Linked DNA regions of Homo sapiens: regions 1, 2, 3, 4, 5 and 6 are each linked to region 7. Evidence: promoter capture Hi-C in 16 types of primary human blood cells and fetal thymus (Javierre and others, 2016). All regions are on one chromosome and are shown on one strand. The core of a region is centred on a gene start or on the middle of the fragment in contact, and the rest is flanking DNA. Distances in the headings are between cores, read along the strand shown.

Evidence for each region. Contacts are between HindIII fragments. The CHiCAGO score rates a contact against its expected background, and 5 or more counts as called.
Region 1: a fragment that was not itself captured here is called in contact with the fragment with the promoter of HAMP in region 7 in 9 of 17 cell types (total B cells, monocytes, naive B cells and 6 more); the score reaches 14.2 in total B cells.
Region 2: a contact is called between a fragment that was not itself captured here and the fragment with the promoter of HAMP in region 7, in 15 of 17 cell types (total B cells, naive B cells, M1 macrophages and 12 more). The highest score is 22.3, in total B cells.
Region 3: a contact is called between the fragment with the promoter of DMKN here and the fragment with the promoter of HAMP in region 7, in 14 of 17 cell types (monocytes, naive B cells, total B cells and 11 more). The highest score is 13.0, in monocytes.
Region 4: the fragment with the promoter of HPN here is called in contact with the fragment with the promoter of HAMP in region 7 in 6 of 17 cell types (naive CD8 T cells, naive B cells, total B cells and 3 more); the score reaches 9.6 in naive CD8 T cells.
Region 5: the fragment with the promoter of HPN-AS1 here is called in contact with the fragment with the promoter of HAMP in region 7 in 6 of 17 cell types (total B cells, naive CD4 T cells, total CD8 T cells and 3 more); the score reaches 7.3 in total B cells.
Region 6: a fragment that was not itself captured here is called in contact with the fragment with the promoter of HAMP in region 7 in 1 of 17 cell types (naive B cells); the score reaches 5.1 in naive B cells.

The regions. Positions count from the first base shown.
Region 1 is chr19:35,442,249-35,445,921 of GRCh38, forward strand. No RefSeq gene overlaps it. Among named protein-coding and RNA genes, the nearest start is that of FFAR2, 4.2 kb to the right of the region's middle. RefSeq lists an enhancer at 34-243. The HindIII fragment of the contact is 3,169 bases long and covers 496-3,664 here.
Region 2 is chr19:35,491,992-35,495,737 of GRCh38, forward strand. It overlaps LOC124904703 (a long non-coding RNA gene), which reads right to left. Exons shown (of 2, transcript XR_007067242.1): 1 at 3,400-3,746; 2 at 2,601-3,199. Among named protein-coding and RNA genes, the nearest start is that of KRTDAP, 3.4 kb to the left of the region's middle. RefSeq lists an enhancer at 2,855-3,746. The HindIII fragment of the contact is 3,900 bases long and covers 1-3,330 here.
Region 3 is chr19:35,511,758-35,515,410 of GRCh38, forward strand. DMKN (dermokine) reads right to left here and starts at 1,892. Exons shown (of 16, transcript NM_033317.5): 1 at 1,293-1,892; 2 at 833-1,033; 3 at 664-720; 4 at 6-56. The coding sequence starts at 1,718. The HindIII fragment of the contact is 13,607 bases long and covers 1-3,653 here.
Region 4 is chr19:35,040,471-35,044,067 of GRCh38, forward strand. HPN (hepsin) reads left to right here and starts at 1,251. Exons shown (of 13, transcript NM_001384133.1): 1 at 1,251-1,402; 2 at 1,983-2,052. The coding sequence starts at 2,037. RefSeq lists an enhancer at 1-722. The HindIII fragment of the contact is 15,827 bases long and covers 1-3,597 here.
Region 5 is chr19:35,104,223-35,107,795 of GRCh38, forward strand. HPN-AS1 (HPN antisense RNA 1) reads right to left here and starts at 2,082. Exons shown (of 4, transcript NR_024562.1): 1 at 2,007-2,082. LOC124904701 (hepatitis A virus cellular receptor 1-like) reads left to right here. Exons shown (of 3, transcript XR_007067238.1): 2 at 277-2,614. The HindIII fragment of the contact is 15,680 bases long and covers 1-3,573 here.
Region 6 is chr19:35,067,101-35,070,600 of GRCh38, forward strand. All of the region lies in intron 3 of HPN-AS1 (HPN antisense RNA 1), which reads right to left. Among named protein-coding and RNA genes, the nearest start is that of HPN, 27 kb to the left of the region's middle. RefSeq lists enhancers at 775-1,460, 1,461-2,146. The HindIII fragment of the contact is 2,050 bases long and covers 707-2,756 here.
Region 7 is chr19:35,280,017-35,283,815 of GRCh38, forward strand. HAMP (hepcidin antimicrobial peptide) reads left to right here and starts at 2,512. Exons shown (of 3, transcript NM_021175.4): 1 at 2,512-2,651. The coding sequence starts at 2,562. RefSeq lists enhancers at 6-505, 178-677, 184-328, 768-847, 2,374-2,883 and 1 more and a cis regulatory region at 249-262. The HindIII fragment of the contact is 2,484 bases long and covers 1,294-3,777 here.

The sequences.
Region 1 (3,673 bases), core at 830-3,329, 160 kb after region 7:
GTGCAGGCCGGGCACAGTGGTTCGTGCCTGTAATCCCAGCACTTCGGGAGGCCGGGGCACGTGGATCACTTGAGGTCAGGAGTTGAAGACTTGCCTGGCCAACATGGCGAAACCCTGTCTCTAATACAAATACAAAAATTAGCCGGGGGTGGTGGCAAGCATCTGTAATCCCAGCTACTCAGGAGGCTGAGACAGAAGAATTGCTGGAACCCAGGAGGAGGAGGGTTCAGTGAGCTGAGATCACGCCACAACACTGTAGCCTGGGAGACAGAGCAAGACTCCATCTAAAAATAAAAATTTTAAAAAATAATAAAAATAAATAAATTTTAAAAATACCGTGTGCAAATGATGAAAGGCAAGACACAGAGTCTCTCAGAAGAATAGAGCGTCCAGAAATAGTACCACACACACATACAACCAATGGGTTTTTAGTACAGGTGCCGCGGCAATTCAACAGGGAAAGGAAAATCTGGAATAATTGGATAAGGAGGTAAAAGCTTCTTAGGACATAAAAGCACAAACCATAGAAGAAAAACCAGATAAATTAGACCTTGTCAAAATGTAACACTTTTTTGCTTTTCAAGAGACAATTAAGAAAATGAAGACCAGGCACAGTGGCTCATGCCTGTAATCCCAGCACTTTGGGAGGCCGAGGTGGGCAGACTGCTTGAGCTCAGGAGGTCGATGCCAGCTTGGACAAAATGGCAAAACCTCATCAGTACAAAAAATAGAAAAATTAGTCAGGCATGGTGGCAGGTGCCTGCAGTCCCAGCTACTTGGAGGGCTGAGGCGGAAAGGTCACCTGAGCCTGGGAGGTCAAGGCTGCAATGAGCTGTGATGGAGCCACTGCACTCCAGCCTGGGCAACAAAGTGAAACTCTGTCTCAAAAAAAAAAAAAATTAAAAGAAGAGAAAAGTCACAGAATGGCAGAAAATATTGGTAATATATACATCTGACAAATGACTAGTACCAAGAATATAATAAAGAACTCTCAGAACTCAACTATATGAAAATAATCCAATTTTTCTTTTTTTTTTTTTTTTTTTTGAGACAGAGTTTCACTCTGTTGCCCAGGCTGGAGTGCAGTAGTATGATCTTGGCTCACTGCAACCTCTGCCTCCTGGGTTCAAGCGATCCTCCTGCCTCAGCCTCCCTAGTAGCTGGGATTACAGGCGCCCGCCACCACGCCCAGCTAAATTTTGTATTTTTAGTAGAGATGAGGTTTCACTATGTTGGCCAGGCTGGTCTGAAACTCCTGACCTCAAGCAATCCACCCACTTCAGCCTCCAAAAATGCTAGGATTACAGGTGTGAGCCACCATGCCCAGCCTAAAATTTTTTAAATGAGCAAAATATTTAAACAGACATTCCACGAAAGAAGATATACAAATGGCTCATAAGTACTTGAAAAAATGCTTAACACCAATAATCATCAAGAAAGTATAAATTAAGACCACAACAAAGGCCGGGTACGGTGGTCCACGCCTGTAATCCCAGCACTTTGGGCAGCTGAGGCGGGCAGATCACCTGAGGTCAGGAGTTCAAGACCAGTCTGGCCAACATGGCAAAACCCCATCTGTATTAAAAATACAAAAATTAGCCAGGTGTGGTGGCACGTGCCTGTAATCCCAGCTACTCAGGGGGCTGAGGCACGAGAATGGCTTGAACCCAGGAGGTGAAGTTTGCAGTGAGTGGAGATGGCGCCACTGCACTCCAGCCTGGGCGACAGATCGAGACTCTGTCTCACACACACACACAAAAATACCATGGCATACTTATTAGAATGCCCACAATTAAAAACTAACAATTGTCAAGTGTTGGTGAGGATGTGGAGCAACTGAAATGCTCGTAGGCTGCTGGTGGGAATGCAACATGGCACAGCTACTTTGGAAAACTGGTAGTTTCTTAAAAAGTTAATAAAACGTTTTACCATACCACCTGGCCAATACACTGCCAGGTATTTGCCCAACAGCACTGAAAACATTTCCACACAAGAATGTTCTTAACAGCTGTATTCATACTAGACAAAAACTTTTTAAAAAAAACCCAAACCAACCAAATATCCATCAACAGATGAATGGATAAATAAAATAGGAAATATCCTTAAAACAGAATACTATTCAGCAATAGAAAAGATGCTTAACCTGTAAGAGGGGAATCGAAATCTAGGAGGTCAGGGCCTTTTTTTTTTTTTTTTTTTTTTTTGAGACAGAGTCTTGCTCTGTCGCCCAGGCTGGAATGCAGTGGCGCAATCTTGGCTCACTGCAACCTCCGCCTCCTGGGTTCAAGTGATTCTCCTGCTTCAGCCTCCTGACTAGCTGGGATTACAGGCGTGCGCCACTATCCCGGCTAATTTTTGTATATTTAGTAGAGACGGGATTTCGCCATGTTGGCCAGGCTGGTCTCGAACTCCTTACCTCAGGTAATCCACCTGCCTCGGCCTCCCAAAGTGCTGGGATTACAGGTGTGAACCACTGTGCCCAGCCAGACAGGGATTTCTTAAGGAAGTAAATGGTTATCTGAAAGAAAGCTACAAATTAACTGTGAAAGTTGGAATGGGTAACAAGAAATAAAGACATACCAGGCAGGGGCTGGTTCAAGCTCCCCATGGCAGATGGAAAACATGACACATTCACAGAAGTGGAAAATGGCCCTGCCCAGACAGCAAAGAGAGAGAAGAGTGATGTGAGTGGAAGCTGGCAAGGGCCATGCTAGGCAGGCCTTTTTAAGGATGTTGATATTTCTCCTAAAAGCAGTGAGAAGTCTCTGAAAGGACAAGAAGGTCGTATAATTGGATTGACATTTTTAAAATGATTCCACTAATACAGTATGGAGAACTGACTGCCAGGGAAGCAGATGGATGAGAGGAAGTGAGTCAGGGCCCTGCTGAAATCCTGGTAGGGATGATGGCACTGAGATGGGATGATGGAGATGGAGACGGATGGATGGATTCATATTTGGAATCCATAAGTATTTGGGGAGTACATCAGACTGCATTCTAGGGATAAGGAAGAAGATAATATTGAGATTCACTTTAAGACTGACTCTAGTCAGGCTCAGTGGCTCACGCCTATAATCCCAGCACTTTGGGAGGCCAAGGCGGGCGAATCACTTGAGGTCAGGAGTTCGAGACCAGCCTGACCAACATGGTGAAACCCCGTTTCTACTAAAAATACAAAAATTAGCCGAGTGTGGTGGCACATGCCTGTAATCCCAGCTACTCGGGAGGCTGAGGCATGAGAATTGCTTGAATCTGGGAGGCAGAGGTGGCAGTGAGCCGAGACTATGTGCCACTGCACTCCAGCCTGGGCGACAGAGTGAGATTCAGTCTCGAAATTAAAAAGAAAAAAAAAAAAGACTGACTCTAAGATAATGGTGCAGGAGATGTGATGGGAAGAGATCTTACGCCCCAAGACAGGGAAGGGTGGAAGAAGGAAGATCTGAGGCCAGGTCTGGACACATTTGATTTGGTTGATTTGGGACACCTGTGAGACACCCAATGGCAGTGTCAACTAGGCAGTTGAGCGTGTACATGTGAAGCTCACAGAAACCTAGGGTGAAGATTCAAACCAGGGGTGTCATGAAGGTGGTAACTGGAACTACGGAAACAGTTGCAGTCGACTAGAAGGAGAGCACAGGCGAGAACAGGAAAGAACCTGGAGCCAAGCTTGAAG
Region 2 (3,746 bases), core at 131-2,630, 210 kb after region 7:
GGTGGCCAAACCGGCTCCTGCTGTAACAGGGAGGGGCTGGGACATGGACCGGCGCTGTCAGGGAAAAGCAAGACCTTATCAACACAACCTGATGCAATGCACGGTGGCGGTGGCCCTGGGTGGGAGGGCTGGACGGCATCCATGAACAACCTTTACGAACCCCAGAAGCTGGGCACCTCAGCTCCATCCTCACGCTGCCCCCACACCCCAGTCCCAGACATCCTCTTCAGCCTCCTCTGATTTTATAATGGCAGCTTCCCCTTTGCAGAGCTACCTGAGGGAACACTGCTTAGAGAACACTCCCTTAGCCCAGATGGCCACACAGTAGTGGATGTCACAGAGTTGGTGCTCCTGGAGGGGACGAGTTAGAGAATGACTGAGGTGGGTGGAGCACCTCCCAAAAGGTTTTCTGGAGGACACAAGTTCTGTGTAATGAATCCTTGCTAATTAACGAACAGTGACTGAAAAAGCTCATTAGCCACCATTCCATCCGCATAGGGTCGACTCCAGGGAGTGAAGAATCAGACAAAAGAGAACTGATGTTGTATAACCAGCTACGATTTGACAGGCGGGTGAGGGGACCCAGTGCCAGTTTTGGCCTGGGTGATCTAGAGCATCGGTCAATCCAACGCTGTCTTCTGTTTTGCTCTAGAGTCTAATCTGTGATTTTCCTTTGACAATAAATTGCCCTCCCTATGTTTTCCTCTCCACCCGATGGTATTGATAACAATGTTAGCTGAGTTACTGAGGCTTACTATATGGCAGACCTTGTACTAAGTGCTCCAAATACGCGATCTCATTGAAATGTCCCAGTGATTCTGACACAGGTGGGTACTATAATTATTCACATTCTATAGGCGGGGGAACCACAGCATATAGAGGTTAAATAACTCACCCCAGGTCACACAGCCAGAATGTGACAGGACCAGCATTAGAACGCTGGGCTTCCAGAGCCTGAACCTATATTGCTCCTCTCTATGCTGGACAGGCTATGTTACAGCACATGTAACACCCTGTGTGAATTAGACCCATGTCCTGAGAGTGGGGGGCAGACTGCATCGAACCCCCACAGGTCCCCTTTACAGTGTCCATTGTGGTGCATAGCCTGCACCATCAGAGGTGGCAGCCCCAAGCATAGGTGCATTCATTTAAATGAATCAAACTGCACACTCTTGACAAAATGAAAACGAAGAATGAAGGTTAGTGGCATCAGCCCCCGAATGAACCTGTGATTGCCTCCGTTTCCAGATGCCTCCAGTAGTATAATCATCTTGCCACACCAAGTATGTGTTTACAGATAGGGTTCCGTTTCTGGATCTAGTGTTCAACATTCTGCTGTTTAAAAATAGGTACTTTTTGTATCATACCTCTAAACACAGGCCAACTGCTTTGTGTGCTCAACCAAAGAAATTCTCTTCCTATGCTGGAAAAAAAGCTGTCTGTGTTGGACTCATGATTTGTTTCCACTTGGCATCTTCCTGGCACCTTCTGAGGGTAGTTTTTTGGGGTTTTGTTTGTTTGTTGTTTTTTGTTTTTGAGACAGAGTCTTGCTCTGTTGCCCAGGCTAGAGTGCAGTGGTATGATCTCGGCTCACTGCAACCTCCACCTCCCAGGAGGAGTGATTCTCCTGTCTCAGTCTCCCGAGTAGCTGGGATGACAGGCGTGCGCCGCCACACCCAGCTAATTTTTGTATTTTTAGCAGAGACGGGGTTTCACCATGTTGGCCAGGATCGTCTCAAATTCCTGACCTCAAGTGATCTGCCTCGGCCTCCCAAAGTGCTGGGATCACAGGAGTGAGCCACGGCGCCCAGCTAGTTCCATCTTGACGTGATTTTTGCTGTAAGCGGCCAACTTTAGAAGCCAGTGTCTCTCTCCAAACTCCTCCCTCTTCCTCCATCTACGCTGCCTGAGTAGTTTGTGTTCCCTGAGTTGGGTTGGGCAGATGGGGAAAGAGAGGGGCAGGGAGTTCTCCCTGGGAGAGGGTCCCAGCAGTTCAGGTGATGGGCTGCAGGAAAATCTGCCCGATACGCAGCTCAGCTTTGGATGAATCACGGAGGGTTAATGGAGTCAGGCAGCCGCAGAGACTGGCTCTGCAACATCACATCTCCAGGTCGGCTTGACTTCCTAGCTCCCTCACTGAGAATACCAGTAAACCTCTGTTTTCCCACAGGCCTGCCCCCACCCCACCCCAAATCTGCCAGAACTTGAGTGTGGGTAGGAGGCGAGGCCCAGCCTGGATTGCCCCATTGTGAGACACACCTAGGGCCTGGCAGCCAGCCTCCTGGGTCTAGGGAGGGAGTGGGGATTCCAAGAGAGAGACACTAGGTTTTCGGGGCCTTGGCGAACACTAGGTGGGAAGCCGGGAATCCTGGGAGAGAGAGGGGACTGGGATGTGGAGTATTAGGGGGCAGAACTCAGGGCATCCCTGTCCCATCCCTTCCTCCCTCCGTCGGTGTTGTCACAACCAAGAAAGCAGCCTCATCCACCAGCAGGTGTGGTTTCTTCCTTTGCCGCCCACCCTATGTGCCCGGTGCTTAAACCTCTCCCAGGAAGTCTTCCTGGATTGGTCCCACTTAATTCCAATCCCTCTCTCCATTGGCTAATTTGTAAATATTTATTTGGCTCTTGGTACTGGGGGCTGTAGATGGACAAAAGACCTGCCCTACAGATCCCATGTCCTAGCGAAGGAGACATCATAATGTAACCAAAAATAGATACGCAAACAAGATGACTTCAGAGAAGGACAGGTGCTGCGAAGAAAACGGGGCCATATGATGCTGACAGGGTTTCCTTGGTCGATGGCCTGAGGGCCGAGTGCGGTGGCTCGCACCTGTAGTCCCAGCACTTTAGGGGGCTGAGGCAGGAGGATCACTCAAGCCCAGGAGTTCCAGACCAGCCTGGGCAACATGGCAAGACCCCGTCTCTATTAAAATACAAATTTTAAAAGGTGGCCCAGGGAGGGACATTTGAAATTAGTCCTAAAAGCAGATGAAGCTCTGGCTTTCTGAAGACCTTGGTAACAGCCGCCCATGTTCCCTGATGGCCTGTGCCAGTAGGCCCAGAGGGACGTTAGAGAGGGAGGCCAGGCCCATCGCATAGAGCCGTAGTGAGGAATGGGGATTTTATTCCAGGGCTAATGAGAAGCTGGTGGTAGGTTCCGAGCAGGGGCTCCTTCTAGGGCGTTGTGGAAGAACGGGATCTAAAGAATAAGATGGAAGTTGGGGATTCAGGAGGTCACTGGAGGAGCCCTGAAGGGAGAAAGGGGTACCCACCCTTCACTGGAGGGCCCCTCATGCCAGGGGACCTTAGCCTGCCTCGGGTGTCACTCTAAGCTTTCAAGAGCCGCTTTCAGCTCTTTGGGCCAAGAACATCTCACGAGCCAAGAACCGTGTTGCTCACCTCCGCGTCTCCCCCGGTGCCTCAGTGACTGGGCTGAGGAGACTTCAGCTCCCCACGGGTTTCCACCCCCACCCACGCTCCGGGAAGCTCTCTGTGCAGCGAGGACGGAGCGTCCTCCCTGGGAGGGCCCCGCGCTCTCCCCCCTGTGGCCTCTAGGAGGTACTGCAAGGCCCTCCTATGGCGTTGAACTCCGGAGGACAAGTGCAAACCAGCATCAGGATTTCAGGACCCAGGAGAGAAGGGAGGCCAAGCAGAGGAGCGGCCCTCCCAGGCAGGCCGACTGGGTCAGCTCGGTCTCCTCAAGTCAGTTTTGGGCCGGGTTTCTTTCACGTATACATGCACTGTTT
Region 3 (3,653 bases), core at 642-3,141, 230 kb after region 7:
CTCACCCCAGAGTTGCTGGAGCCTCCACCTGAGCCAGATGGTGGGGGATTCGTGCACTGTCGAGGGAAAGGGATGGTGAGTTTGGGGACGGTGAGTTTGGAGACGTTGGCCTCGGCCATGGACACAGGCCAGGCCTCTCCCATTCTTTGGGGCTTGGCTTCCTTTCTCCTAATGTGTTTCTCCCACCTCCCCTTCCCATCTGCCTCCTCCCCAGGCCCAGGCCCGTCTCTTCCTCCTTTTTTTTTTTTTTTTTTTTTTGAGACAGGGTCTCACTCTGTTGCTCAGGCTGGAGTGCAGTGATGCGATCTCGGCTCACTGCAACCTCCATCTCCCAGGTTCAAGTGATTCTCCTGCCTCCGCCTCCCAAGTGGCTGCAATTACAGGCGCATGCCACTATGACCGGCTGATTTTTGTATTTTTAGTGAAGACAGGGTTTCACCATGTTGACCAGGCTGGTCTTGAACTCCTGACCTCAGGTGATCCACGTGCCTTGGCCTCCCAAAGTGCTGGGATTACAGGTGTGAGCCACCTCGCCCAGCCCCATCTCTTCCTCTCACCCCAATCCCTCCACTCCCCCATCTTGCTTTCCTCTTTGTCTTTCCCCAGCTCTCTGTAGCCTGCACCCAGTGGCTTCTTCATTTGTTCCCAGCCCCTTCCTCTTACCCCTTCATTCTGGTTGCTGGCTCTCACTGAACCATAGCCAGGCTGGGCCACAGCTCCCTGCAGAGAGGGTGAGACTGAGAGTAGGATCCAGAGGGACCAGGGAGGCACGCGGAGCATGTGGGCTTGGAGGGAGGGAGGTGGCAGGTAGCAGGTCTGGGGGTGACTTTACCTGAGTGTTGGTCCCAAAGTTTGGTGGCCCTCCATTGCCTCCTTGACCCCAGGGAGCTCCCTGAGGATTCATTCCAAAGCTGCCTGCTGAGTTTCCGGGGTATCCGTGGACCCACGGAGTCCCCAGACCTCCAGGATTGCCCTGGCCCTGGCCTCCAAGGCCACCTTGAGAGCCAAAGATGCCATGGCCTCCAGAAGTTTCCTGCAAGAACAACATACCTGCACTTAGTGGGACCATCTCTGACCCTGGTAGAGAAGAGCCAGGGCAAATCATAAAGAGACCAGGAGAGAGACAGGCAGAGGGACTCCAGGGTGGCATAGGAGGGGGGCAGAACATAGAAGGAAGCTGCCCCAGAAGCCTGCAAGTAAGAGATCCATCCATCCTTTCAACCGTTTCCCAAGAATCTCAGCCCAGCAGCCCACAGCCTCCCATTTCCACATGCAGCCCCACAGCCACTCACCCAAGCACCATTGTGGCCAGGCACCCCCTGCCAGGAGCCGCGGACAGCATCTGCTCCGTGTCGAATGACATCTTCTGCCTGTCTGCCAATCTCGTGCCCAGTGTTTCCCAGAGCATGGGCTGCTTCCCCGACCCTGTTGCCCAAAGCATCTGCTACGCCAAAGCCTGGAACCTGCCTGACTCCAGTGCCAACTGCTTCTCTGGTCCCTTGGCCAAGGGCCTCACTGACTTTAGAGCCAGCTGCCCCTCCGGCCTCTTTGCCAATGGCCTTTCCCACCCCTTCGCTCAGGGCGTCTCCCAGGCCATGTCCAAGGGCCTCCCCAATATTTGTCCCAGTGCTTTCCTCTCCGCTCTGCAGGGGGCCAGCCTCCCCACTGCCCAGGCAGAGGGCCAGCAGGAGGCAGGCCAGGGGCCCCTGGAACTTCATCTCTGCCCAGCCCCCTCTCTCTCCAGAGTGTCTTCCTCCCACCAGGGTCTCCTCCTTGCCGCCCTTGCTCTGCGTCTCTGTGCCCTCCTCTGTCCTCCTCCTTCCGACTCCCTGTCCTCCCTCCCTCTGGGTCTGCAGCCTTCTCTCTCCTGTCCTCAACTGCCTGGGCTTCTCAGAGTCCACCTCCCTGTCACTACTCCTTATACTCTAGGTTGGGAGAAGGTGACAGGGCTGGGCAACCTGAGGTCCCTCCCCGCAGTGACTCAGGGCCCAGCCACCAATAGGGTAATCAGCTGTTATTGTGAGTCTGAGAGTCTCTGTCGAAACAGAGAGTGAGCCGCATCAGGGAGGGAGGGAGAAATGGATGAGGTGATGCAAAAGTGCTCCCATTTCCCAACCCCAGGCATTCGGGGAGCTGGGTGGGGGCAGGGGCATCTAAGGAGACAGGTTGTCGTTGGCTCCTGGAGGCGGTGGGGTGGGGGCAGACTTAGAAGAGAGGAGTTACTGGCAGGACCCCACCAAAGGAGTAAGGACAGGGAAGCCCCAGGGGACAGGACCCACCCAGGCTCAGCCAGCCTGGCTCAGGGGCTCCAGAGTGACAGGCATTGCCCGTCCTCGGCCTGGCCTTTCTCGGTTTCAGCACCTCAGCCTCTCCTCTCCCTCTCCCCTCCCGCATTGCCACCTACAGGTGACTGCCTTCTTGTTCCTCCACACCTTCCAGCCCACAGAGAGAGACTGGCAAACACGGGGCTGCGTGTCAGTTTCTGAGATTCTGGGGAGAGCCCCCGGGGGGACCCTCGGTGTCGGGGAAGGAGGTGGCCATAGCCCTTTGAGTGGTCAGCAGGGTGTCTCAGCGTTCAGGCTGCTCCCGGCTGAGAAAGCTGGGCGCGGAGCAGGGCAGCCAGGCGCGCCAGCCACCCCCAGGGAACGAGTGGGAGGGAAGGCCAAGGGAGGGAGCCGCTGACCCAGGCACCCATCCTGTTTACGCAGCCCTAGAGGGGCACGTGTGAGTATAAGCGCCTATGAGGGGCGGGACTGGGCCAGCTCACCCCACCCATCCCCCAGGCCAGGGGCCAGGGCAGCAATGGCAAGCGAGAAGAGGGTAGCGCAAGGTCAGGAGCCATCCGTGAGAGCCACGGCCCTCTCCCCAGTCCCAGCTCGGGATACAGAACCTGGGAGCCTCCCCCCGCCTCACCCCTGCCCAGCAAGTGTGGCTGCTTCTCTATTCCCAGGGGCCACAGGGCCTCCCACTGTTTCGTATCACTGGGGTTCATCGCCCAGTTAGGAGGGGCCAGTTTCCATCAGCCTTTCTCAATGTCTCTCAGTCAGTCTCTCTCTTCTCTCCACCCCAATATCCGCACCCCAGCTTATAACATCCAACACTTCTTACCTTGTAAACACTATCCCCATCTGTCCTCCTCAGCTCCTACTTCCCTGTTATTCCATCTCTGACTCGTTAATGATGATAATAGCGATGGTGGTAATAATAATAATAATAATAATAATAATTACAGCTCCAGCTTATCAGCGGTTCTGTATGTACCCAGCATTGGACTAAGCACAAGCAGTTTAAGAATTATACAACTCTGGGAGATGGTTCTTTTTTTCTAGAGACAGGGTCTTGCCCAGGCTGGAGTACACTGGCACAATTGTAGCTCACTGCAGCATCGACCTCCTGGGCTCAAGCGATCCTCCTGTCTCAGTCTCCCAAGTAGCTGGGACTATAGATGCACACCAGCACACCCAGCTAATTTTTTTTTTCTTTTTGAGACAGAGTCTTACTCTGTTGCCCAGGCTGAAGTGCAATGGCACGATCTTGGCTCACTGCAACCTCCGCCTCCCAGGTTCAAGTGATTATCCTGCCTCAGCCTCCCAAGTAGCTGGGATTACAGGCGCATGCTGGGCCTGTAATCCCACGCTGGGCTAATTTTTGTG
Region 4 (3,597 bases), core at 1-2,500, 240 kb before region 7:
CCCGTCACCTTCCCCCCATTCCCGTCCCCGAATCTTCGAGCCCGCTTTCCAGGGACCCTACCTGAGGGCCCACAGGTGAAGCCACTTAGTGCCTGATCTGTGTCGGGGTTGGGGGAGCCATGGGCTCAGGGGTGAGGGAGAGTGGAACGGAGCCAGGAAGGGAGGGGGTGCCGTGGAGGGAAGAGAATCGAGGCTGATGCTGGGGTGCAGGGGTGGCATGGGGTGTGTGGTGTGCCCAGCAGTGTGAGTCTCTGGAGAGGTGGGCGCTGGGGAGAAGGAGAGGGAAGGAGAGACGGGTATGGATGGAAAGGCAGAGGAAGCCAGGCTAAACCAGCGTGTCCCAATGAGGGGCCCTGGGCTGAGTGGAGGAAATGGGTGCGGTGGAGGTGGGTTTGGCTGGGCACAGCGGGCACGTGTGGGTAAGCGGGTGGGGCCGGTTGTGCGGGTGGCCTATCTGGGGCAAGCAGCCGAGGCCGACTGTGTCCGGCGTGTGGTTGAGCACGGGCAGGTGTCTGGCGGTGACCCTGCACGTCTGGTGTTTACCTGGCCCTGGGTCTGACGTGGGCCGCGCCTGGCTGCTGGCGGGACAGTGTGTTATCTGCCTGCGGACGCTTCCGGCCACTTGGCCTGGGCCTCTGCCCTTAGCGCTGTGTTTTCCCGGCCAAGCCCCCCATCCCCCCTATCTAGTGCTAGGACTTTCTGGCTCCAGAGGTCACCGCGGCCGGGCGGAGGCTGCCAAAGCAAACCAGCCCCGTGACTTGTAGGAAGCCAGCGGGGGAGGGGCCGGGGCAGGATGAGCAGGGCAGGCGGGAGAGGCTGGGGCTGGGGTTGGGGCCCAGGAATTGGGCAGGGAATTAGGCAGAGGTGCAGCAAGTGGCGGGCACAGCCAGGACCTGGGGCTGGAGGACGCAGAAAGGGCGGGGGGAAGGGTTCGCTGGGTGAGGGTGGAGTGGGCTTAGGGCAGCTGGGGCCCTCCATCTGATCTCTTCTGGTCAGACCCCCACCCTTCAGCCTGCACTTTCTCCCTAAACCCCCAGCCTCCGGCCAGGCCTGTCCCTGTTCCCACATCCCCGCAGACAGGCACACCTGGGTCCCCCTGGAGGTCCAAGGCAAGCCCCGTAGCTGGGCCCGCCTGGTCCAGCCCCCACAAGCCCGGCCCCATCAGCCAGGTGGCCTCCAGTGCTGCCAATCGAATGGTCCGGCCCCTCCCCGCCCCTTCACCCGCCCCTCGCCCAGCCCCCTCCTCCTCAGGTGAGGCAGCCTGGCCTAGCAGGCCCCACGCCACCGCCTCTGCCTCCAGGCCGCCCGCTGCTGCGGGGCCACCATGCTCCTGCCCAGGCCTGGAGACTGACCCGACCCCGGCACTACCTCGAGGCTCCGCCCCCACCTGCTGGACCCCAGGGTAAGGACAAGGGCCCCCAGACTCACAGTTCCAGCCCTGAGGACAGGGGTTCCCTCATCCCCCCACCCAGCCTAATGCCCACCTCCTAATAGAGGGGTTCCTGGGGACCTGAAGAGGGGGCACTATGACGTCCCCCCAAGCACCTAGGTGTTCTGTCCTGCTCTTCCTTCAGACTCAGCCGTTGGACCCCAGTCCTTTCCTCCCCAGACCCAGGAGTTCCAGCCCTCAGGCCCCTCCTCCCTCATACTAGGGAGTCCTGGCCCCCAAATTCCTCCTTTCCCAAGACTTATGATTTCAGGTCCTCAGCTGTCTCCTCCCTCAAACCGGGATCCTCAGTCCCCTGCTCCACCAGGCTCAGGCATGGGGGTCCCCATCCCTGCAAATCCAGGCGTCCCCCCGCTGCTGGTCAGACACTGACCCCATCCTTGAACCCAGCCCAATCTGCGTCCGTGATCACGGCGTGCTCTGGCCAAGGCCCAGTCCCTACAGCCTGCCTGGATGGACGCCTGGGACTGGGGGCGCCAGGACTGGGCTGGGCTGGGCTCCCCCAGGCCCTGCCTCCCCGTCCATCTCCTCACAGGTCCCACCCTGGCCCAGGAGGTCAGCCAGGGAATCATTAACAAGAGGCAGTGACATGGCGCAGAAGGAGGGTGAGTCCCCTTCCCTGAGCCCCAGCTTTGGCTCTGCCTGGCGCCCCGCCCTCTGTGCTCTTTTCTCTACCCTCTACTCTTCGGAGCCCCCTCTCTCTGGGCACCCCTCCCAGATGCATCCCCACCCCTGTTAGTCCTCCTCCACCTGATTAACTATTAACCACATTTTCTGTGCAGCTGTGCCACCACCAGCCTCCCTTCTACCCTATGTGACCTTCCTGGCGTGCTGCCTCAGTTTCCCCTCATCCCCCAGTGATTTCTCAGCTAACTCTGGACTTGTCCTCTGCTGGGGCTGAGGCGGGGAAGCTGTAGCTGTCATGGTTAAGGACACAGATTTGGAGTGAAACACACAGGCTTGCATTTGAATTTGCTCTTGCCATCTTTTTTGCTGTGTGATCTGGTGCAAGTGACATTATTCTTAGGGCTTTGGTCTCCCTCTGGGTCAAGCATGGATACCAGTCCTCCCTCTGTGAGGTTGCTGAGTGCATGACACACACCAGGCACTGGTCTGGGGCTCTGCATATAAGACGCATGCCATCAAGCAGAGCTGTCATGACAGAGGTTGGCAAACTCGGAGTCCCAGAGACCCAGGACCCCCACCGATCCCAGACATTCCTCCACCTCCTGGCTCTGTGGGCAAAAGAGCAGAGGGAGGACTTTGGACTGGGCCTGGATGGATGGAGAGGGGAGAGACGGCAGAGAAACCACCATAAGGATGAGAGAGAGAGACTGCGTCATGGAGTTGCTGGCCCTTGGGAGTCTCTGGGCAGCCCCCAGCTAGCCTGGCTTCCTTTCTACCTCTCACACATGGGACCCAGCTGGAGGGGCGCATGGAGGGGCGTCCTGTTCTTTCTGCCTTCCCCTAGCTGGGGCTGACTCCCTCTCTTCTTCCGCAACCAGGATAGCCGGGCTCAGTCCTGGGCAGTAGCACTTTCTAGCTGTGTGGCCCTGGGCAGACGGCGTGTTCTCCCTGGGCCTCCATTCTCTCATCTGTGAAATGGAGAGGGTGACAGTGCATGTCCAACAGCGTGGGGCGAGGCCTGAAATGCCAGGATGGGCAGGAAGCACTGAGCGTGTTGGCTGAAATGATTAGTTCAGATCTCTGGCCTCCTCGGGTCTCGGCACAGCTGGCAATTCAGACCCCAAACCAATCAGCTGCAGTCCAGAGGGAACCCAGGCTCCCAGTTACTCAGGAGAAGGCATTGCACCCTAGCCGAGCAGGTGGATGACAGAATCCAGCTCCTTGGGGACAATCTCTTTCCTGGAGCTGCCGGAAGGACAGCCCCAGGGCTTGGGCCCATGGGTGAATGAGCCAGGGAAGAAAAGCAGAAAATGCCCGAATGGACAGAGATGGCCTGGGTACAAAGAGAAACAGACACAAAGTGGGCTCTGGTGCCTCCCTGGCAGCTCCGGGCTGGTCTTGGAGGGGAGTCCTGCTGTCAGGGCTAGGGGTGTGGAGGTCGAACCTGGACACAGATGCTGAAGGGTTCCGATTCTGCACTTACTTGCCGGGTGACCCGGGTTTGGTGGCTGCCGGACTTTGGG
Region 5 (3,573 bases), core at 832-3,331, 180 kb before region 7:
TGAAGGGGTGTGTGAGACAAGATGAGGACAGAGGGGACAGAGGTTTATTTTGTGGGACTGCCCAGGCCACGGTGGCGAGTTTGGATTTTCTCCAAGTGTACTAGGGAGGTATGGAAAGGTTTTGAGCAAAGGAGGGATAGGATCTAATGTGCGATTTCAAAGGGCTCCTTGGGTGCTATGTGCAGAGTGGATCTCAGCAGTGGCAGGAGCAGGGGCCCAGGAGGGGCAGGTGTCTGGACGTGGTTGCCCGACGTAGCCTGGGTGTCTGTGTTCCAGGTGAACGGCTCCCAGGCTGGCCTGCCCCTGACTCTGGCTGGGGGGCACACTCCAGGCCTTCTTCACGCCCTTGGCCATCACAGTCCAGGTGGCACCCGGCCTCTCCATGACCTTTCACGAATCCCATGCCCTCTGAGTGGCAGTGCCTGAGACCTACACCAACACCCTCTGTGGCCTGGGCGGGGACTTCAGCGTGGATACCCAGGATGACTTCAGCGGCTCTGATAGCACATGGCTCTCTGATGCCAACAGCTTAATGGGGGCCCAGCCCCTCTGTGCCCACCAGACAAGGCAGCCCTATACCAGGCCTTCTGTGGCTTGCTGGGCACCCAAGATGGGCCCTACAGGGCCTGCAGTAAGGACGTGGATCCCCAGGTGCATGTGGAGAACTGCATCCATGACCTCTGTGCCACGGGGGGCTCAAGAGAGACTCTGTGTGCCATACTGGGGAGCTACGCCCAGGAAAGCCAGCAGCGCAGCGTTCCCATGCAGCCCTGGAGACACCTCTTGGCCTGCAGTAAGTGGGTATTCCCAGGGAGGGTCTTTCTCAGCCTGACCTCCCCAGCTGGCCCAATACCACTTCCAGGATGTCCTCCTAGGTCAACACCACCCAAAGTGACCCACTGCATGCCTTTCTGGCTAACTGTTCCCGCGAAGAACCTACCTGCTTAAAACTCTGCAATAACAATAACAGATGACACTGAGTGCTATTGCATCAGTCAGGATGGTCTGGGTTATGCTGAAGTAACGAACTAACCTGAACATGACCCAGCATGACCAAGGTTGTTTCTTCATCACTATCTTCGTCACCTTTGTCATCATCACAGTCACTATCATCATTACCGTCACCATCACCACCACCACCAGCGTCACCATCACCACCACCACCAGCCTCACCACCACCACCACCACCAGCATTACCATCATCACCACCACCACCATCACCACAAGCATTACCATCATCACTACCACCACCATCATTGTTACCACAACCACAACCATCACCACCATCACCATCATCATTGTTACCACAGCCACAGCCATCATCACCACTACCATCACCACCATCATCACCATCACCACCATCACCATCATCATCACCACCACCACCACCATCAACATCATCATCACCATCATAACCATCACCACCAGCATCACCATCACCACCAGCATCAGCATCACCATCACTACTATAATCACCATCACCATTATCACTACCACCACCATCATTGTTACCACAACCACAACTATTGTCATCACCACCACCACCACCCTCACCACTATCATCACTGTCACCATCACCGCTATCATTACCATCACCATCAACACCATCACATCACCAACAACATCACCAGCCCTACCACCATCATCATCATTACTATCACCACGACCACCACCACCACCATTATCACCACCATGATCACGCCACCAGCATTATCACCACCGTGACCACGCCGCCACCGTTAATCACCGCCGTGACCACGCCGCCACCGTTATCACCGCCGTGACCACGCCGCCACCGTTATCACCGCCGTGACCACGCCGCCACCGTTATCACCGCCGTGACCACGCCGCCACCATTATGCTACATCCTGATGATGCCTCCACCTCCCCTCCTTTGCCTTTATGACTTACCCTTGGCCCCCACAACCCTCTCTCCGCTCCCTTGGTCCTATTCTGGTTGGAAATGCTCCAGAATAGTAATGCTTGCTCAATTATTTAACTCCTACCTGTTTTCTTCCAGAGCTGGCCTGTCCTCCCCGCAGCAATTACGAGCTCTGCGGCTCCTCCTGTCCTAGCTCTTGTGCCGAGCCTGCCCTGCCCGACAGCTGCCTGACACCATGCCAGGATGGCTGCCAGTGTGACCCAGGCTTTGTGCTCAGTGGCATGGACTGCGTGCCCCCAATCCAGTGCAGCTGCTCCATGGGGGGCAGGTACCACCACCCGGCTGGGGAGGCCTTCTGGACTGGGGAGCGCTGTGAGCAATTCTGCCACTGCCAGGCCTCCACCCACGCCGTGTGCTGCTCCCCGTCCTCCTGTGGGCCGGGGCAGAGATGTGAGACCCTCAGGGGCATCTTTGGGTGCCACCCACTCTCCCCTGGCATTTATCAAGCAACCATGCACTCACACGTCGCCTCCTTTGACCGGAAGAGTGTTGAGTTTCCAGGCACTTGCGCTTCTGCTTTTACCAAGTCCTGTGGCTCCTCCAGCTCATTGCGCCTTTTCAAGGTGGAAATTGGGAAGGAGAAACAAGTCCAGCAGTCCCATTGTGTTCATTTCAAAGATGTAGGTTCATGGGACCCAGGTTTGTCTGCAGAGAGAGCCCCGACCTGATGAGGTAAGCACTCATTGGCATCTAGAGACTCTTGAACCGATTGAAGCTAAAAGAAATACATTGGCTCAAACTAAGTAAAAATCATGTGATAGCCTAGTGAAAGTGTAGAGATTCTGGGTCCACAGAAGTTCCCTATATACCACTTTGGCTGTTTTGGTTACAGAAAGCCTCATAAAAGGTAACTCAAACCAGTCACAGACTGTGTTTTATGATTTTTAGACTAATTACATAACTGAAAATTCCAGAGGGAGATCAGGCATGGTTTGATCAGGGTGCTAACTCAGTTTTTCAGCATTTCTCTTGGTCTGTGTTTCTCTATAGCATTAGCTTTGTCCTCAGGCTGGCTTTTCTTGTGATGGCAAAATAACTGCCAATTTTCCAGTCATTAAATGTGTATTCCCCATTGTCCAAAACCCGAATCTTTTCTTACCCCAAGTACTCAACAAAAATTCCAATGCTTCACTTTGATTAAACCCCACTGAGCCAATCAGTGCAGCCCAGAGGTTTTCTTAAGCCTATCTAATCCTACTCAGGAGTTGTAGGTGGGAGAGATCCTGCCCCTACCCCCCATCTCTGGCAGCTACTTCTTGCAGGGAGAGAGGGCAAAATGGGAATCCACCCCTGTGTCCCTATGTCCCCCGAAACCAGTATTTCTTCTTAACAATCTTCAAAGAGTGTAAATGCCCTGGTAAACCTCCACTCTGAGACCTGAAACTTTTGTCTAGAACCCACAGGGGTGGATGTGTTTTCTAGGCCCGAGGGCCCCTGCCTACAAGAGTTCCATTGTTGGCTATTGGAAAACACACAGCCACACCCCTCCCACTCCACCCCCTTCCAGGAAGGGAACCAGCTTTCAGAATTAGTCATGCTGTCAGCGTCCCACACAACGAGCCCATTGACTCCAAAGGGCAGCACAGCAGATGGACTGCTATTATCCCAGTGGTACAGATGGGGAAACTGAG
Region 6 (3,500 bases), core at 482-2,981, 210 kb before region 7:
GCTCAGTGAGCAAAAAAGACATCTACCTTGAACCAACACGGAAAACGGGGCCCTGTAAGGTGGAGATAGGGAGACGCTGGGAACACAGCCTGAGACCCTCCCCCAACCCCTTTCTCCATCTGGGCAGCTTCTGGGGAGGAACCCCCTTCTGTAGAGCCTCTGCAGAGCCTCATGCAGCCCCGATGGCCACCAGGGGGCACTGCTGCCCCAACATTGTGACACATTAAGGGGTTTCCTGCCTGGAGTCAGCCGCATGTTGCTGAAAACCTGCTGTTCTGCTGAAGAAAGGCTCAGCGGGGGAGCCTGTTCACCATGACTTTAAATAATAACAATTATCATACATCACCCATGGACCACAGCTTCCAAGCAATTTCCTTTTTTTTTTTTTTTTTTTTTTTGAGACAGAGTTTCACTCTTGTCTCCCAGGTTGGAGTGCAGTGGCGTGATCTTAGCTCACTGCAACCTCCGCCTCCTGGGTTCAAGCGATTCTCCTGCCTCGGCCTCCCGAGTAGCTGGGATTACAGGCGTGCCCCACCACGCCCAGCTGATTTTTGTATTTTTAGTAGAGACGGGCTGTCACCATGTTGGCCAGGCTGCTCTCGAACTCCTGACCTCAGGTGATCCACCTGCCTCGGCCTCCCAAAGTGCTGGGTGTCACGCGCATCCATGTGAAGAGACCACCAAACAGGCTTTGTGTGAGCAATAAAGCTTTCTAATCACCTGGGTGCAGGCAGGCTGAGTCCGAAAAGAGAGTCAGTGAAGGGAGATAGGGGTGGGGCCGTTTTATGGGATTTGGATAGGTAGTGGAAAATTACAGTCAAAGGGGTTTGTTCTCTGGCGGGCAGGGGTGGGGGTCACAAGGTGCTCAGTGGGGGAGCTTCTGAGCCAGGAGAAGGAATTTCACAAGGTAATGTCATCAGTTAAGGCAGGAACCGGCCATTTTCACTTCTTTTGTGATTCTTCAGTTACTTCAGGCCATCTGGATGTATACATGCAGGCTTGGGCTCAGAGGCCTGACACTGGGATTACAGATGTCTGCTGCCACACCTGGCTAATTTTTGTATTTTTAGTAGAGACGGGTTTCACCATGTTGGCAGGCTGGTCTCGAACTCCTGACCTCAGGTGATCCGCCCACCTTGGCCTCCCAAAGTGCTGGGATTACAAGCCTAAGCCACTGCACCCAGCCCAGCTTCCTAAAATATAGATGATCTACAAGAGCTCCTTTGAGAAACTGACAAACTGTGCATTTGGAAAACGATCCCAGCGTCACTCCCCGATCCCCACACCCCTGGCGAGGTTGAGCCCCACCACTGCTTTGTTGGTCAGGAGCCCCCAGGCCCACATCGTGTTAGCAGAGCCTCAGTGCAGTTTCCCCAAACGTCTACCTCTGGCTGTGGTGTTCTACCCATGGCATGTGGGATGTAATTTGAGACCTGACCTACGGCTTGCTTTGTTAGAAACGTATTGAGTTACAACACGGAGTGACTGAGTTTTCCTTTGTAATTGCCAGCTGAGAAATGTACTGTACCTGTGTTTTAGGAAGTCTGGGGACTCTGAGAGAACATGGTCCACCCTGGGGGTTCTAAACTGAGGTGACCATGTCCTGGAGGGACACAGTTTGCTCTGGTGAGGAGAAGGGCGGGTGTGAGGGGCACTGAAGAAGGCATGGCCCTGCCCTGGGAAGTCTGGGGGGGATGTGGCCTTATTCTAGGGGATCTGATGGAAATTTGGTCATTAAAAGCCAACAGGCATCCTGCTGGGAAAATAAAAACCAGGTGGCCATGTTATTGGAAAGGGGTCCTGATCCAGACCCCAGGGGTTCTTGGATCTCGTGCAAGAAAGAATTCATGGCAAGTCCACAGAGTAAAGTGAAAGCAAGTTGATTAAGAAAGTAAAGGAATAAAAGAATGGCTACTCCATAGACAGAGCAGCCCCGAGGGTTGCTGGTTGCCCATTGTTATGGTTATTTCTTGATTTAGTCTTGATTTATTATTTAGTTATGCTAAACAAGGGGTGGATTATTGACGCCTCCCCTTTTTAGACCATATAGGATAACTTCCCAACATTGCCACGGCATTTGTAAATTGTCATAGCGCTGGTGGGGGTGTAGCAGTGAGGACAATCAGAGGTCACTTTCATGGCCATCTTGGTTTTGGTGGGTTTTCCCGACTTCTTTACTGCAGTCTGTTTTATCAGAAAGGTCTTTATGACCTGTATCTTGTGCCGACCTCCTCTCTCATCCTCTGACTTAGAATGCCTTAATTTACCGGGAATGCGGGCCAGCAGGTCTCCGCCTTACTTTACCCAGGTCCTATTTAAGATGGAGTTGCTCTGGTTCAAACGCCTCTGACAGCCATTCTGAGTTCTGTCTGCACTGTTGCTTTGTTGGAGGAGTGGAGGGGCTGGGGAGATTGTGATTCACTCAACAGCCATTCACTGGTTTCCCTTGTATGCCAGGGGTCAGTGAGCCTCAGTTTCTCCTCCTGCTCCCAGCAACCTTGCCACTCACCCCAAAGAGCTAGGAAGATATTTAAAAAGAATAATAACAGTCACAAGGTTGCTTTCAGTTCCTGCCAGGGTCTCAGTCTTCAGAAAAGCTGAATATGAAAATTACTTCCATGTCATTGTGGTGCCGCTCAGAATCAGAAATATTTGACCCATCTTACAGAATTAGTGCAACTACATCAGGAACCCAAGCCAAGTTTTGCATTCCTATTTAGCATTTATATCTACATAGTCCTTTTCAAATATAGAAAAGCTTTCTGGATGTTAGTTGGAACAGATAGCTCCATATGTGGTTATAAGTTGGCATTCTCCCAGCTGGGTTGAAGGAGAAATGTACAGCTACTCTGCCACAACAGTTATTTCATACATAAAATCACAGCCATGATTAGCAATGATGGTGAAGGCTATTCATTTTATATTCAGAAATAATTATTGTGAACATTCAGATAGCAGCATAAGTAGGGAGATGGACTTTAGTTTCTGCATAAAAAGTAACACTGTTTCAATCCTGCAGTTATGAAGCGAGGAGCTGTTTTGGCTCTTGCTGCATGACATACCACCCAAAGCTAGTGGGTACAGTAAATGCTCATGGATTCTGCAGCTCAGAAAGTTGGACAGGGAACAGCAGGCACAGCTTGTCTCTGCTCCCTGATGACCAGGTCCTTAGCTAGAAAGCCTAAAGGAACAGGGACTGGAATAGGGAGGCTTCTTTTGTTTGTTTGTTTTGAAACAGGGTCCCACTCTGTCGCCCAGGCTGGAGTGCAGTGGTGTGATCATGGCTCACTAAAACTTCTACCACCTGGGCTCAATCGATCCTCCCAACTTAGCTTCCCAAGTAACTGGGACTACGGGTGTGTGCCACCATACCCAACTAATTTTATTTTTTTTTTGTAGAGATGGGACTGGTTGCCCAGGCTGGTCTTGAACTCCTGGGCTCAAGTGACCCTCCTGCCTCGGTATCCCAAAAGGAGGCTCTTTACTCACAAGTCTAGTAT
Region 7 (3,799 bases), core at 1,262-3,761:
GGGTGTGGGGAGCTGGGGTCAAGGACATGTCCCATGTTGGAGGAGAGGCAGGGGTCTCCGTGTCAACAGTTCCTGAAAACACAACCAGCCCCTGGCCCTGCCCTGCTGGGCCAAAGCCCTCCCCTCTGCACCAGCCAATAGTGGGGCCTGGCCTTGAGCCCCTCACCCCCAGGGAGGGCAGATGGCCAGGGCGCCAAGCTTGGCCCGTCAGCCTGTCGCCTTGCACCAAGGCTCTGGCGCCTGTGCTGTGACCCCTGCCCCTGCTGATGATGAAACCTGTCCTCAGCTGAGATGCAGCGATGCCTGGTAGGGCTGGGGGCTGCTCCTGTGTCTCCCCAGGTGAGCACACCCCTATTCACTGGGCCCTGCTTCAGCCTGCAGCACCCTTCAACTCCCAGGAGCTGGGCTTGCCACTCTGCTCACCTTGTGGAGCTCCATCTGCCTTTCCTCCCCAATTCCCCCACTCCCTGCACTCGTCTCTTCCCACAAGAGCCCTGTCTCCTTTTCCTAGCTATTCCCATCTGAGGCCATCTTTATTCATTTAGTTTTTAGAGACAGGGTTTCACTCTCACCCAGGCTGGGGTGCAGTGGCACACAATCACGGCTCACTGCAGCCTTGACCAACTACAGGTGCGTAGCACCACAGCCAAGTTTTTGTATAGATGGGGTCTCGCTTTGTTACCCAGGCTGTGACAAGAGGAGCCTCCCACGTGGTGTGGATGAGGAGGCAGATGGCAGGGCCTGTGCATTTCTGTGCTTGAGTGGGCCTTGAAAGTGGTTCAGCAACCAGGAAGAAGTGTTCATTCCTCGACAACAACATCCCCGGGCTCTGGTGACTTGGCTGACACTGGATGGCCCTGGAATGAAAAAGGCAAAGAGGCAAAATGTGCAAGGGCCCATCTGGAACCAAGGTTTGTTGATCCCCTGGGCCGTGTGCACCCTGAGCTGGGCCTGGTAGTGGAAAGGAATGAAGGCACTGCAGTCAGGCAGCCTGGGTTCATCCCCCAGCTAGTGGTGTCCTAAGGAACCGGCTCCCCAAAAACATCCCTGGCTTGTAGTGCTTGCCAATTTCTGGGTGTCAAGACTCCCACTGCTGCTGATTTCAGGATACCAGCATGATGCCACTGAATGCAGAGTTTCGAGATGTGCATGGTCTGCTATGTTGAGCCAGGTCTAGCATACCGCTGTGCCCTGCTGTGTTTTAGGGGAGATGGGGAAACCTGGTGGGTAAGAGCAAAAGCCCTGGAGTCAGGCTGTCCAGGCTAGAATCTCAGCTCTGCCTCTGGCTGAGCAAGCTTGGGCCATGCCCTGATCTCTGCCTTCAGTGCCTTTTCTGTAAAGTGAAGGAAATGAGTGTCCGACGGGGAGGAGGTTCCTAAAAGGGAGCAGGGTCTGGGGAGCCCAGGCCTCTGGGGTTGGGTGACTGAGAAGGCAGCCCCTGAATACAGAGCAGAGCTGAAGGTGGGGCAGTAAGTGCTGCTGGGAGAACAGGCAGCACAGGCTGAGTTGGTGCAGAAGTGAGTCAACATATGTGCCATCGTATAAAATGTACTCATCGGACTGTAGATGTTAGCTATTACTATTACTGCTATTTTATGTTTTATAGACAGGGTCTCACTCTGTCACCCAGGCTGGAGTGCAGTCACACAATCATAGCTCACTGCAACCTCAGCCTCCTGGGCTTAAGCGATCTGCCTCAGCCTCCCAAGTAGCTGGGACTACAGATGTGTGCCACCACGCCTGGCTAAATTTGTTTAAAATTTTTTTTGTAGAGATGGGGTCTCCCTATGTTGCCCAGGCTAGTCTTGAACTTCTGGGCTCAAGCGACCCTCCTGCCTTGGCCTCCCAAATTGCTGGGATTACAGGCATAAGCCACTGTGCTGGGCCATATTACTGCTGTCATTTATGGCCAAAAGTTTGCTCAAACATTTTCCAGTTACCAGAGCCACATCTCAAGGGTCTGACACTGGGAAAACACCACGTGCGGATCGGGCACACGCTGATGCTTGCCCTGCTCAGGGCTATCTAGTGTTCCCTGCCAGAACCTATGCACGTGTGGTGAGAGCTTAAAGCAATGGATGCTTCCCCCAACATGCCAGACACTCCTGAGGAGCCTGGCGGCTGCTGGCCATGCCCCGTGTGCATGTAGGCGATGGGGAAGTGAGTGGAGGAGAGCGGAACCTTGATTCTGCTCATCAAACTGCTTAACCGCTGAAGCAAAAGGGGGAACTTTTTTCCCGATCAGCAGAATGACATCGTGATGGGGAAAGGGCTCCCCAGATGGCTGGTGAGCAGTGTGTGTCTGTGACCCCGTCTGCCCCACCCCCTGAACACACCTCTGCCGGCTGAGGGTGACACAACCCTGTTCCCTGTCGCTCTGTTCCCGCTTATCTCTCCCGCCTTTTCGGCGCCACCACCTTCTTGGAAATGAGACAGAGCAAAGGGGAGGGGGCTCAGACCACCGCCTCCCCTGGCAGGCCCCATAAAAGCGACTGTCACTCGGTCCCAGACACCAGAGCAAGCTCAAGACCCAGCAGTGGGACAGCCAGACAGACGGCACGATGGCACTGAGCTCCCAGATCTGGGCCGCTTGCCTCCTGCTCCTCCTCCTCCTCGCCAGCCTGACCAGTGGCTCTGTTTTCCCACAACAGGTGAGAGCCCAGTGGCCTGGGTCCTTAGCAGGGCAGCAGGGATGGGAGAGCCAGGCCTCAGCCTAGGGCACTGGAGACACCCGAGCACTGAGCAGAGCTCAGGACGTCTCAGGAGTACTGGCAGCTGAACAGGAACCAGGACAGGCACGGTGGCTCATGCCTGTAATCCCAGCACTTTGGGAGGTTGAGGCAGGCAGCCCACTTGAGGTCAGTTTGAGACCAGCCTGGCCAACATGGTAAAACCCCGTCTCTACTAAAAATACAAAAGTTAGCCAGGCTTGGTGGCAGGTGCCTGTAATCCCAGCTACTCGGGAGACTGAGGCAGGAGAATTGCTTGAACCCGCAAGGTGGAGGTTGCACAGTGAGCTGAGATTGCACCACTGCACTCCAGCCTGGCAACAGAGCAAGACTCCATCTCCAAAAAAGAACAGAAATCAATGAAGCACCGAGTGACAGGGACTGGAAGGTCCTAATTCCATGGGTATTTACGGAACCCCTACGCCGTGTGGAGTCTTATTCTAGACAGTGGGGACGAGGCCATGAACAAGGTAGATGAGAGAGGAGATTTCTCCATCCTGGTCAGGGAATTTGTTAAAGACTGATGAAAACATGAATAAATAATTGTGTCTAGTACATTCTATTCGTGAATCTCATAACAGACAGTGGTAGAGTGACCGTGACCCATTCGCCACACAGTAGAGTCACTTTTTTGGTTTGTTTTTTAGAGACAGGGTCTTCCTCTGTTGCTGAGGCTGGAGTGCAGTGGTGCAGTCATAGTTCACTGCAGCCTCAACCTCCTGTGCTCAAGCAATCCTCCCACCTCAGCGTCCCAAGTAGCTGGGACAGCAGGCACATGCCACGGGTTGGGGGACCACAGGCATGGTCAAGGGGCTGGCAGTCAAGCAAGTGTTTCATGAGAAAGTGACAGTTGACCTTCGTCTTGGAGGGTGAGAGATGGAGGCAGCAAAGACCTAAGGAGAGGACAAGCCAGCATAGCCCAGGGTCAGGCTGAACAAGAGGAGATGGTGGGACTTGGGGATAAGGCTGAGGGGTGGGCAGTCCCTAAGTCTTGTGGGCAACCATGCAGACACTGATTTTTCCTTGGAATAAAGAGGAAGCCCCCATAAGCTTTTTTTTTTTTTTCTGAG